2 separate regions of the Homo sapiens genome follow, and region 2 is linked to region 1. Evidence: promoter capture Hi-C in 16 types of primary human blood cells and fetal thymus (Javierre and others, 2016). All regions are on one chromosome and are shown on one strand. Each heading gives the region's core, a stretch centred on a gene start or on the middle of the fragment in contact. The rest is flanking DNA. Distances are from core to core; before and after follow the strand shown.

Region 1 (5,726 bases), core at 36-2,535:
GGGGTAATGAAGCATATATTTTAATTCAGGTTTAGATGTCAGAGGAATCTAAGACACTAAAGAAGTGGGTCCATCGACAGGACAACAGATGGTATCTGGCACTGCAGTGGCAACTTGAACAGTTTCACATTTCACCCATCACCTTAATTTCTATCTTACCTTATGTCCTCTGTAAAAGGCAATTTCTTCTACATTGGCTATAATTCTCGAGTGCACATACCGCAAATAGCCTTTTCTATGTGCTTCCTCTGCCACCAGTTTGCCAAATTTGGGAGAACAGGCTTTTAACACTTTAGCAGTGGCATACACCACAAGTCCTGCTAGTAGGGTGGGCCCAATTGGGCTTGCTCCTCTGGATGTAGCAGTTTGAATGAGTGTATAGGAGGTCAGCATTACATCTAAAATAGGTTTGGTCAGATTGGAATACAAGTGAGCCACAGATTGGGAGAACATCATAATATCCTCCGTAAGAGATTGGTCAGGGTTTGCCAGCCTCCCATCCATATTGATCACTTTATAATAAGTCTGATTTGTAAAATAGGTTTCATAGGCGTGGTCTACTAGGCGAGTTCTGAAGGCCAAAGCCAATTTGCATTCCAGGTACCTTATTGCACTGTTGACGAAGGTAGCAGGGATGGCAATCATAAGCCACTTGATTAATTTGATGATGAAAGTCCGAGGCTTCTTTTCCACAATGCTTTTCACGATTTTTCCATCCAGACCAGCCACATAGATAGAAAGAAAGGTTCTTGAGATTAGAGCCACTGAGTGCAGGCAGAGCCACCCTGTTTCAGTGGTCACAAGTTTTGGAAACAAAATTTTCCGAAGTTCTAGTAGCTGTTTGAAGAAATCTGCATTCACTCCAGGCGAAGGTTTTTCACAAATGGTCTCGGTGCAATGCAGTATTTCTGTGTTCTCTGCAGCAGGGTAAGCTGCTGCTTTTTTCTTCCCGTGGCCAGATTGCTTTAAACGCTTGCCAATGATGGGATAGAGGGTTTTCAGAGCATATGCCGCAGCCACCAGGCAGGCAGCCCTCTTAGCAGCACTCGATCTGGTCCATTTCACTCGATCAGCTGCTGCATTTAGCATATGTGTCATTTTCCCAGTTACCCAAACCGGCTTCCAAAAGAATTCGTTTTAAAAGATCATGCTTCACAGAAATCCCCAGCAAATGTTTTAGAAAGTCCTACAGCGTCCCATAGTCTGCAGCGTTTCTCTTCCACTGTTGTGTTTTTAATTTTGTTCTGCTGTGACAGATGCAGCAGAGCTCAGACTCCGCTGCATCTACCGGGAATGATTCTCTCAGAAGCTCAAGCTGCACCAAGCTCCTCCCTCCCAGGCCCCTCATTGGCTGTGAGGGCGGTGGGACCTTGGAATCCTCGCAGCTTCCCTTTGAACCTTGAAAATGAGGAGAGAGCAAAGCGAATTACATCCTTCCTTAAACAGGAGTTCAGAGAGTTAAAATGTCTATTTTTGGAGAGGTCGAATCAGGCCATCTGCTGGCGAACAAAACCGGCTCTAGCTACTGAGCATGCTCAGTGTCACTTAGAAACCCACAGAAGTTTCAGAATATACATCACTTCGGTAAGATTTCAGTAGATACCGCAAACAGAAGAGCAAGCAGAAAGGGAGATTTCCAAGCGAACAAAACCGGCCCTAGCTACTGAGCATGCTCAATGTCACTTAGAAACCCGCAGAAGTTTCAGAATATACATCACTTCGGTAAGATTTCAGCAGCTACCGCAAACAGAAGAGCAAGCAGAAAGGGAGATTTGCAAGAGTTTTAATGAGACGAGGAGGGAGAAGGAACCACGAAAATGAGGGAGGAGGGACAAGAGGATCAACATAAAATGAATATGAAAAGGATATGGAATGAATCTGAAACGGATCAGAAAAGAAAGTGACAAGTGGGAGGGACACCGGAGAATGCCAAATATCAAATACACTTGGATCTGTTTTTCACAGATCCCCCCGGCTTTTTTGGGGGTCTGATTTCACAAAAGGTCTCAGAACCTAATAGACAAGTTGTAATCGAGGGTTTCCCTTGTAAATAAATAGGATAAAAGTCTTCCGTGTTACAGAAAATAATTATTTGCTATGCCTCTAGCCATTCTCCCTTTTTCCTCTGCATCCTACTTGTCCTTATGCTAAAAATCTTCCAGCCCCATAACTGGAGATCTGATGTACTCATATTTATTTACAAGGTGACGACTATTAAATAAATGAGAGCAATGTTTCATGTTTACTACTCCCATGTGTTAGGTAGTTTTTACTTGGAGTGGGGTAGCACTTATAGTGAAAGTTTAACCATTTGGGAATTCAGCTGGTGTTGGATGGTGGAAATAGCTTCTCTAGGACCTTACTTCATTTTTCAAGAATGCTTTGTCTTTTGCAGGTTTCTGCTTTGTTTGTTTTGTTTAGCTGTAGAGATAATCTACTGGCTACTTCCTATTTCCATTTGGTTATTTGATAAAAACTAAGAGTCTTAAAATTCTTCACATCCATAATGGAGGATTTAAATTGTTCAACAGTCAAGGACAATTCTGCATATTTTTGAAAATGTAAAAAGCTTTTTTTTTTTTTTTTTTTTTTTTTTTTATGAGACAGAGTCTCTCTCTGTCACCCAGGCTGGAGTGCAGTGGCACGATCTCAGCTCACTGCAGCCTCCGCCTCCCAGGTTGGTGCCTCAGCAGCCCGAGTAGCTGGGATTACGAGGGTGCGCCTACCATACTTGGCTAATTTCTGTAGTTTTAGTAGAGATGGGTTTTGCCATGTTTGCCAGGCTGGTCTCAACCTCCTGGCCTCAAGTGATCCACCTGCCTTAGCCTCCCAAAGTGCTCGGATTATAGACGTGGGCCACCACGCCCAGCCAAGAGCATTTTTTAAGTCAGGGCTGAGTATATTTTTGGATATGGAAAAACCATTTTTTTTGCTCTTCACTGTCCCCGCCCCCCATCTCATTAAAATTCTCGGAAATCTCCCTTTCTGCTTGCTCTTCTGCTTGTGGTATCTACTGAAATCTTACAAAAGTGATATATATTCTGAAACTTCTGGGGATTTCTAAGTGACACTGAGTATGCTCAGTAGCTACAGCCAGTTTTGTTCACCAGCAGCTGGCCCCCAACATACATACACATTTCCAGTCAATTAAAAGCTTAGGAAAATATGCATCAAGCTAGAACAGAAGTTGGCAAATTACAACTGGTGGGCCAAATCTAGCCTGCCACTTAATTTTATATGACCCTTAAGCTAGGAATGATTTTTACATTTTTAAAGTGGTTGAAAATACTTCAAAACAAGAATATTTTGTCCTGTGAAAATTATATAAAATTCTCATTTTTGTGTTTATAAATAAAGTTTTATTGGAAAACAGTCACACCCATTCATTTACTCTCTGTCTATGGCTTCTTTCAAGCCACAGTGGTGGATGCAACAAAGACTAAAATATGTACTATTTGGCCCTTTATAGAAGTTTGCAAACCTCTGTGCTAGAATATAAAACCCATCTCAGCATTAAATGATCTTCATTACTGAGTTTATCACAAAGAACTATCCTCACTTTCATAAGTAACCATATTCTTAAAATTTTAAAACTTCTTTCTTATGTACTCATATTAATTCTGACAATCATCACATATCTCTTCATTTGTTTGCATTCAATTCAGCAGACTGACTGACACATGAGTGTCAAACTCATGCAAGTTTTTTTGATAGCTGGCCATATTAGTAGCATAATCCATCATCCCATTAAGACTTTTTAAGCCTGTATGTACAGATAATAGTGGTCATGGAAGTTATTGCCAAAATCTTTTATTCCTAAGCTCTTGCTTTTGTTGTATGCAAGATAAGGTTGCCTTTCATTTATGTCACATCTCCTAACAGCTACACACAAAAGGGTTAGCAGTGACAGGACAGGTTAAAGGCCAGAGTAAACCTAACTGGGGGTGATGGCAGGATGTTGTTAGGCAGAACATGGTACACAGAAGGATGCAGACAGCAGCTGGCAGTCGAGGCAAGTGGTTTGCAATACATACAACCAGAGACAGCCATATTAGGGGAGGAGCATGGCAGTGAGAACTCTAGAAGCAAAGGACACTAGAGATTCAAATAGGACTTAGCTGGAGGTAGGTCAGTTTACCAACTGATAATGAGGTTATAGTGCAGGAACAAGCTTTCAGCATCTGGAGTGAGAGACTTGTGAGAATGAAGAATTATTTATGAGGAAAATGATCAAGACAGAAATTTTGTTACCTGAATCGTGGTACAAGGAAGGTTGAAAGTGAGTTACTTGAAGTGTGGAAAATGTCAACGTGAAATTTGATTTGATATTGAGCCACTTAGGTGAAGACCTAACTCTAACCACTTAAATTTCACTCCCACCATTCACCTCTCCCTGCTCTCAAGGGTAAGAGTTGGTCCTAGTGTCTGAGACTAGACACAAGCCTTCAGATAAGGCAGAGGAAGGATTCAAGAAGACAGGAAGCCATATGGACAATTAGGTCAATAATATATGGCATTTAAGTAAAAAACTAAGAATGTCAAGGTACTTCTTTCAGTTTTTTCTTTTTCTTTTCTTTCTTTCTTTCTTTTTTTGAGGGGGATGGAGCCTCACTCTGTTGCCCAGGCTGGAGTGCAATGGCACAATCTAGGCTCACTGCCACCTCTGCCTCCCAGGTTCAAGTGATTCTCCTGCCTCAGTCTCTCAAGTAGCTGGGACTGCAGGTGCCCACCACCACGCCCAGCTAATTTTTGTATTTTTAGTAGAGATGAGGTTTTGCTACGTTGGTCAGGCTGGTCTCGAACTCCTGACCTCAGGTGATCCACCCCCGTCGGCCTCCCAAAGTGCTGGGATCACAGGCGTGAGCCACCGCGCCCGGCCTTCTTTCAGTTTTTTTCTATTGACAGTATGCAATTAAAGCTAAGAGACTGTTAATTTAGTTTGAATTCCAAACTAGGAAAGAGGAGAAAAAAATCTTTGTTACTGTAGTAAAAAACATACTTAGGCCTAATTTCCACACAAACGTCTCAACTTCAAGTGTGTTTATATGGGAGATTATTAAAATTTTCTTAAGAGGGGAGAAATCTTCTTAGAAAAGATCTTGAGAAACAATGAGAATAATTTTTAAAATCAATAATTCTCAAATCACTGTGCTCTCAAGTGTGATATTCTCATGTACCCTACCAATATCCATGAAAGAAATGAATTAAATGGAGTTTATATATATAGAATACAAATTAGAGACTATATATGTTTTATGAACTGTAAAACATCAGAAATTTTTTTGTAATAAAGAGAATTATATATATGTATATACATAAATGTATGTATAATGTATATTGTATATGTGTTGCATGTTCAGATTATGAATATCCAGAAAGTAAATAATTTTTAGAAATAGGTAAAGATAAATTGTTTAAGGTTTGAGAATTTCGAATGGATTTCCTTTTCAACAAATGCTTAATAGTATTTCATCTGTGCTGTATTGCTTTCTTGAACTGTTTCCTGACCCAAGAGATTACCTAATTGCTCTACTGGCCCTAAAATAGCACAGCATTGGACTCTCTTATTATCTATCAGTCATGCTAGTCTTACTCATGGAGGCATAAACAGCACTGAAAATGAGATTTTAGGTCAACATTTCAGCTATTACACATAACTACCTAATACCTAGTTCATAAGGAAATGTCTTTTTCTGTGAAGGAAAACCCAGTAAATATCTTGTCTG
Region 2 (5,817 bases), core at 3,094-5,593, about 23 Mb after region 1:
ATGCTCTATTTTTATATTATTAATATTGTTTAGTATGACTTAGTTTTCTTGACCAGTTTTGTTGAAATATATATATACACATTTTTCTATGTAATACATATAAATATATATTATACATAAATATATAAAATGTATATTTTATAGAATATACATTAAAATATTTTTATAAATATATAAAAATGTAATTTTTATATATTTATATATTTTATTTATAATACATATAGATACATATATACATATTTATATATAAAGCAATATATATATATGCCTTTTCAAAAGATCAGATTTGGGGTTTTTTGATTCTTATTTTGGTTTCTGTTTTCTATTTTATTAATTTCTGTAGCTTATTCTGTTGTACTTTTTTCAACACCTTAAGATAAAATTTTAGCTCATTAGTTTTCATCTTTTCTTATATATATATAAGACCTTAAATATCACTCTTGGTATTGTTTTAGCACCAAATTACTTTTATTGTTATTCCTTTTTTTTTTTTTTGAGACGGAGTCTCACTCTGTCGCCCAGGCTGGAGTGCAGTGGCGCAATCTCAGCTCACTGCAAGCTCCGCCTCCCAGGTTCACACCATTCTCCCGCCTCAGGCTCCCAAGTAGCTGGGACTACAGGCGCCCGCCACAATGCCCAGCTAATTTTTTGTATTTTTAGTAGAGACGGGGTTTCACCGTGTTAGCCAGGATGGTCTCAATCTCCTGACCTCGTGATCTGCCCGCCTGGGCCTCCCAAAGTGCTGGGATTACAAGCGTGAGCCACCGTGCCCGGCCCACTTTTATTGTTATTCCTTTCTATATGCTATGTAATCTCTAACTATGATTTATTTTACCATGAACCATTTGGTTTAGTTTTCAAGGTGGTATTTACCACATGGACTGTTTTAGATTTGTTGAAATTTGCTTTATGATTGTACTACTCAATTTTTGTAAATATTTCATCATTATTTGAAATAACCTATATTCTTTAATTGGGCTGAAGAATCAATATATTATCATTAGATCAAGCTTGTTAATTATGTTGTCCTAATCTTCTGTATCTTTACTAATTTTTGCTTTATGAGTTTTTAAAACAGTTTGTCACTTTCTACTTGTAATTCTTTGTCTTTCTGCTTTATGTGTTTTGAGGTCATTTATTTAGAAACAAAAAGATTCAGAATGGTACATTTTCCTAATAAGCTGTTCTTTTTACCATTAGTGACTTTTTTTCTAATAAGTCTTTTTCCCTCAAAGTCTGTATTATTGATATTTGATTGATAGCAGATGTAAAGACAACTCTAAATTTTGATATGCCAGCAAAACCAGTATTCTTTCATCTTGCATTCCATTTGCCTGGCATGTTGTTTTCTATCCTCTTACTTTCAACATTTCTGTCTTTAAGATGCCTCTTATAAACAGCTTAAGGCTGTTTTGTTTTGTTTTTTTTAATTAGGTATAAGAACCTCTGATTTTTAACAAGTCAAATTAATCTATTTACATTTAATGTGAATATATTTGGCCTTATTTCTACAATCTTATATATATGTTTTCTATATGCTATGCCTTCCATTGCTTCTTTTTCCTGCATGCTGCTGTTATTGTTTCCTTGTCTGCCTTATATTAGATTGCTTAATTTACTGTATTATTTCCCCCTTCTACTCTTTTGAAAGTTTTTAACTCTTTTTTTAATCAGTGACCCTTAAATTTTTAACATGCTTGTCTTAAGATCTAAAGTTAACTGATACTTCTATCTTATGTAAGTTGGAACTAATTCCTCGCCACCATTTTTTTCACAACAAAATCATTTATTATTGTGTAGTATTAAAGTTATAGAGGTGTAATGTCAAAACAGAATTGAGTAAACCCTACAGGTCAGTGAGAGCACTCTAATTCCACTTACTCTCATTCAACTTCTCTCAAAAACTATTATCACCAAACATTCTGAAAGTGCAGACATCAGCATTTGCCTTGTTCTTTCTTGTAGACAAGCTCCTCGAGTTTTCCTACTTTACTGTGCATTACAACTCATGTCATGTTCAAAGTACAAAACCGCATTTTTTTACTTTAAGGGCAAAGTAAGGAATTTTCAACAGTACCTTTGACTACACAACAATTTTCTAGATAGCTTTGGAACATAACCCTTACGTAGAATGTGACTTCACAGTGATATATTTTTTCCTTTTACCAGGCCAACTAGAAGATCCATAAACAATTAGATTTTTAAAAGAAAAGCTAAAATCTATACCTTGCAGGAATAAAAGTTACCTTGCAGATTCCCAAAGACCTATAATCAGGCAAATGACACATTCAGTTGTAAGTTTTAGTGTTCCCTTTATTTTGAGTGTTTTTATTCAAATAAGTTGCAACTTTATTGTTCAGAGAAATAGTCACTGAATTAAAATCAATGAAAAATTAGAAAGACTGTTTCTTTTTTTGAGTTTTTGAGTTTTTGTTTCTTTTTCTTTTCTTGGCTCTCCTTTTGATGCAGAATTTTTTGCTCTTTAGTTCAGCTAAAATCTTGTTCTTGTGTCACAACCAGGAAAAATTAGGTACATGGACACATTGAAAGGTGAGGAGAGCAGAATTTATTAAAAGAAAGCTCTCAGAAAAAAGGCGGTCCTTTCAACAGGCTTCCACCTCACAGACTGAATACCAGGTCACCACACATGAGCTGAAGAGGCCAGGCTTTGCCCAACTTTATCAGGTGTGGATTCCAGGTGGGTCCACCCCATTGTCCCAGTGCAGGGGTGGGCCCTTAGTTTGAGCCACTCCATATTGATTTATTTCCCTTACTAGGCATGTGTTAAGGGACAGAATGTCTTTGAACATGACACATGAGTTGTAATGCACAGCAAAGTAGGAAAACCCAAGGAGCTCGTCTATACATACAACGCATGTGTTAAGGGACAGAATTTTTCACTGTGGGCACGTTTAGGTAAGCTCCCTGTGCACAATGGCCTGGGCAGCATTTGGCTGTCTCCTTCTCTATCACTTTTATGAGGTGTATAACCTTTTTAAAAATGTGTAAAACTTATTATTTTACTGTATTGTGGCAAGAACACTTAACATGAGATCTCAACACATTTTTAAGTGTACAGTAAATTATTGTTGACTATAGGTACCAAGTCGTCAAGCAGATCTCTAGAGCTTATTCATCTTGCTGGACTTAATGCCTGTTTATTACCAGCTCTCCATATCTCCTTCCACTCCATTTACTTTATTTGTTGAAATTATTTCCCTTCAAATTCTTTTTTATTTTTAATTGCGGCAAAATATATATAATAAAATTTACTAACTTAAACATTTTTAAGTGTGTGATTTAGTAGTTAAGTACATTAACATTGTTGTGCACCCAGTCTCCCAAACTCATCTTGCAAAACTGACACTCTGTACCCATTAAACAACAACTACCCATTGCTCCCTTCCCTCAGCATCTAGCAATCATCATTTGAGAAAATGGCTCAGAGCAGTCTGAAGAATGTGAGAGATGCAAAATTATCAGGCCCAGACAGCAGTGAGCATGATACTTCAGTCGCATCCCCCACACCCATGCCCCAGGGTAATTGTTTAAAAATTTTTTTTTTTCATTCCTTCCCTGTGGTTTCAGACTAGCTGATAAATTACCTAAAATGTTACCACACATTGCACAATGTGACCCTCACCCAGTATCTTCATGTTCCTGGAATTTGTGATAGAAAGAACAATGTACAGCCAATTGATAGACTGTTATTTTTTAAATTCTTGGTAAACAACTTAGGGACTGCTCCCTCCTTTTTTTTCCTAAAAAAAAAAAAAAAAAGGAAAAAGACCACTTGTAACTGCTGTTAATCAGAGCATATATTGAGGGCAACTAGAATCTGATTTCCAGGCTGCAGTCCTCACCTTTGGCTTAAATTAACTCTCTACTTAATCTGTGTCCTTCAAGAATAGCTTGATGCCATCCTTGTGGTAATGAGTAAGTTCTTACTCTATTAGTTCCCATGACAGTTGATTATTAAAAAGAGCCTGGCACCTCTCCCCACGCTCTCCCACTTTTCCTCTCTCACCATGTGATCTTTGCATATGCTAAATGTGCCTCAGTTTCTTCCTCTTTGCCTGAGATTCTTCCCTTAGGTCAAAATTTCTGGTGTAGTCAGCAAGATTCAGAGCAACCTTCCAAATACCCATTGTTCCCTCTCAGACTCAGTGCTCAGTACCAGCAAAAACCCATTGCATTCTTCCAACACCAGATATTTCGCTGGGTGCAAAAGTGTGAGGTCTACATTTTATGTGGGCTTCTTTTTCAAACTCTCTTTTTTCTTTAAGAGCAAGAGTTTCCATCTCCATCTCTAAACAGGAGATTCAGACAAAGAGCCCTGAAGAGAATTTTTGCCCTCTCCACCTGTGCCTCACAGCGGGTTTGGATTACAGTATTGGCAGTCTAGCAAGGGTGGTTTCACTTTTTTGGGGGGCCTAAAATTAAGTAATGTCTTAGTCCATTTAGTGTTACTCTAAAGGAATACCTGAGTCTGGGTAATTTATAATGAAAAAGGGTTTATTTGTCTCAGATTCTGATGTCTGTAAAAGTTCAAGATGGGGCATCTGCATCTGGTGAGAAGCACTCATGGTGGAAGGCAGAAGGACTTCTTTTAGCAAGCATCAATATGTTGTAAATTCAGTCTCTTTAAAAATAACTCTTTATTTCCCTTCGTCTTGAATACTTTAACTGAATACAGAATTTTAAGTTAACAGTAATTTTCCCCTTGGCACTTTGAAGATGATATTCTGGCATATATTTCTGGCATATACTATAACTGATGATAAGTTTTCTATCCAATGCTTCTATCTAAATCGCATTTTTAAAATAAGGAACTATCTTTTCTTTTTATATTTAAGATTTTTCTCTGAGTTCATATTTTTATGTTCATGAGAATGGGTCAAGGTATTTATAGTTATGCATGTATATGTATGACTTGTTTTATTTTTATTGTTCTTCTCAAACTCATTATAATTTCTGTACATATAGATGTGTGTGGGTGTGTATGTGTGTGAGTTTTGTTCTTATTAAATTCATTGTAATTTCTGAATCTAAAAACTAGAGGTTTTTTTCCATTCTGGAAAAAAAATAGGTATTATGTCTTTGAATATTGCCTGTTTATTTTTTATTCTGGAACTCCTATTAAACATGTTGGGTTTTGGCCATTCTCTATGTATCTTAACTGTTCTTCCATATTTTCATGCTTTATCTTTCTGGCAAAGCAGTATATTAGAGAAATTTTCAGCAAATGATTACTCCCTTCCCCTCTCCTACAGAAGGAATGTACTTCCCTGATATTAATTGAGGTCTTGCATAGTTAGGCTTGTCTCTTGATCTCTTTTTGCAACGAGAACATGACTCAGCTAGCCTCTGGTTTAAAGAGGATGAGAGATATGTGGAACAGACCAGGACCTGACCTAATCCTCAGAGAGCAGCTGAGTCTCGCCAAGACCAGCCAATCTCCAGCTAACCCAAAAATGCATGAGTAGGAAATATGCGTATATTGTTGTATGGCACTAGGACTTTGGGTGTTTTGAAAGTCAGAAAAATTGGGCTGATTCAGAATTTGATGTATAAAGTACAGTGCTGCCATAACTAAAACCCAAAATATGTGGCACTGGCTTTGGGAATGGGCAGCAGGTAGTCATGTAATTGTTATAGGAGGCTGGAATAATGACAACAGTATTATGCAGTGGCAAAACATTTGGTAAAATTGTCACCTGCAATACTATGGAATACAGAACATGCAGATCTAGTAAACTTGTGAATTTGGATGAGGTGATTTCAAAGAAGAATATTGAAGAGCAGGCTGCTGCCAGG

Evidence for each region. The method cuts DNA at HindIII sites, captures the fragments that hold promoters and counts their contacts. A CHiCAGO score of 5 or more calls a contact.
Region 2: a contact is called between a fragment that was not itself captured here and the fragment with the promoter of ABCD2 in region 1, in 1 of 17 cell types (total CD4 T cells). The highest score is 5.3, in total CD4 T cells.

What each region holds. Positions count from the first base shown.
Region 1 is chr12:39,618,518-39,624,243 of GRCh38, forward strand. It overlaps ABCD2 (ATP binding cassette subfamily D member 2), which reads right to left and starts at 1,286. Exons shown (of 10, transcript NM_005164.4): 1 at 160-1,286. The coding sequence starts at 1,098. RefSeq lists enhancers at 688-767, 1,078-1,597, 2,827-2,906. The HindIII fragment of the contact is 3,952 bases long and covers 1-2,567 here.
Region 2 is chr12:62,245,510-62,251,326 of GRCh38, forward strand. It overlaps a transcript of TAFA2 not described here. Among named protein-coding and RNA genes, the nearest start is that of MIR6125, 12 kb to the right of the region's middle. The HindIII fragment of the contact is 6,671 bases long and covers 1,009-5,817 here.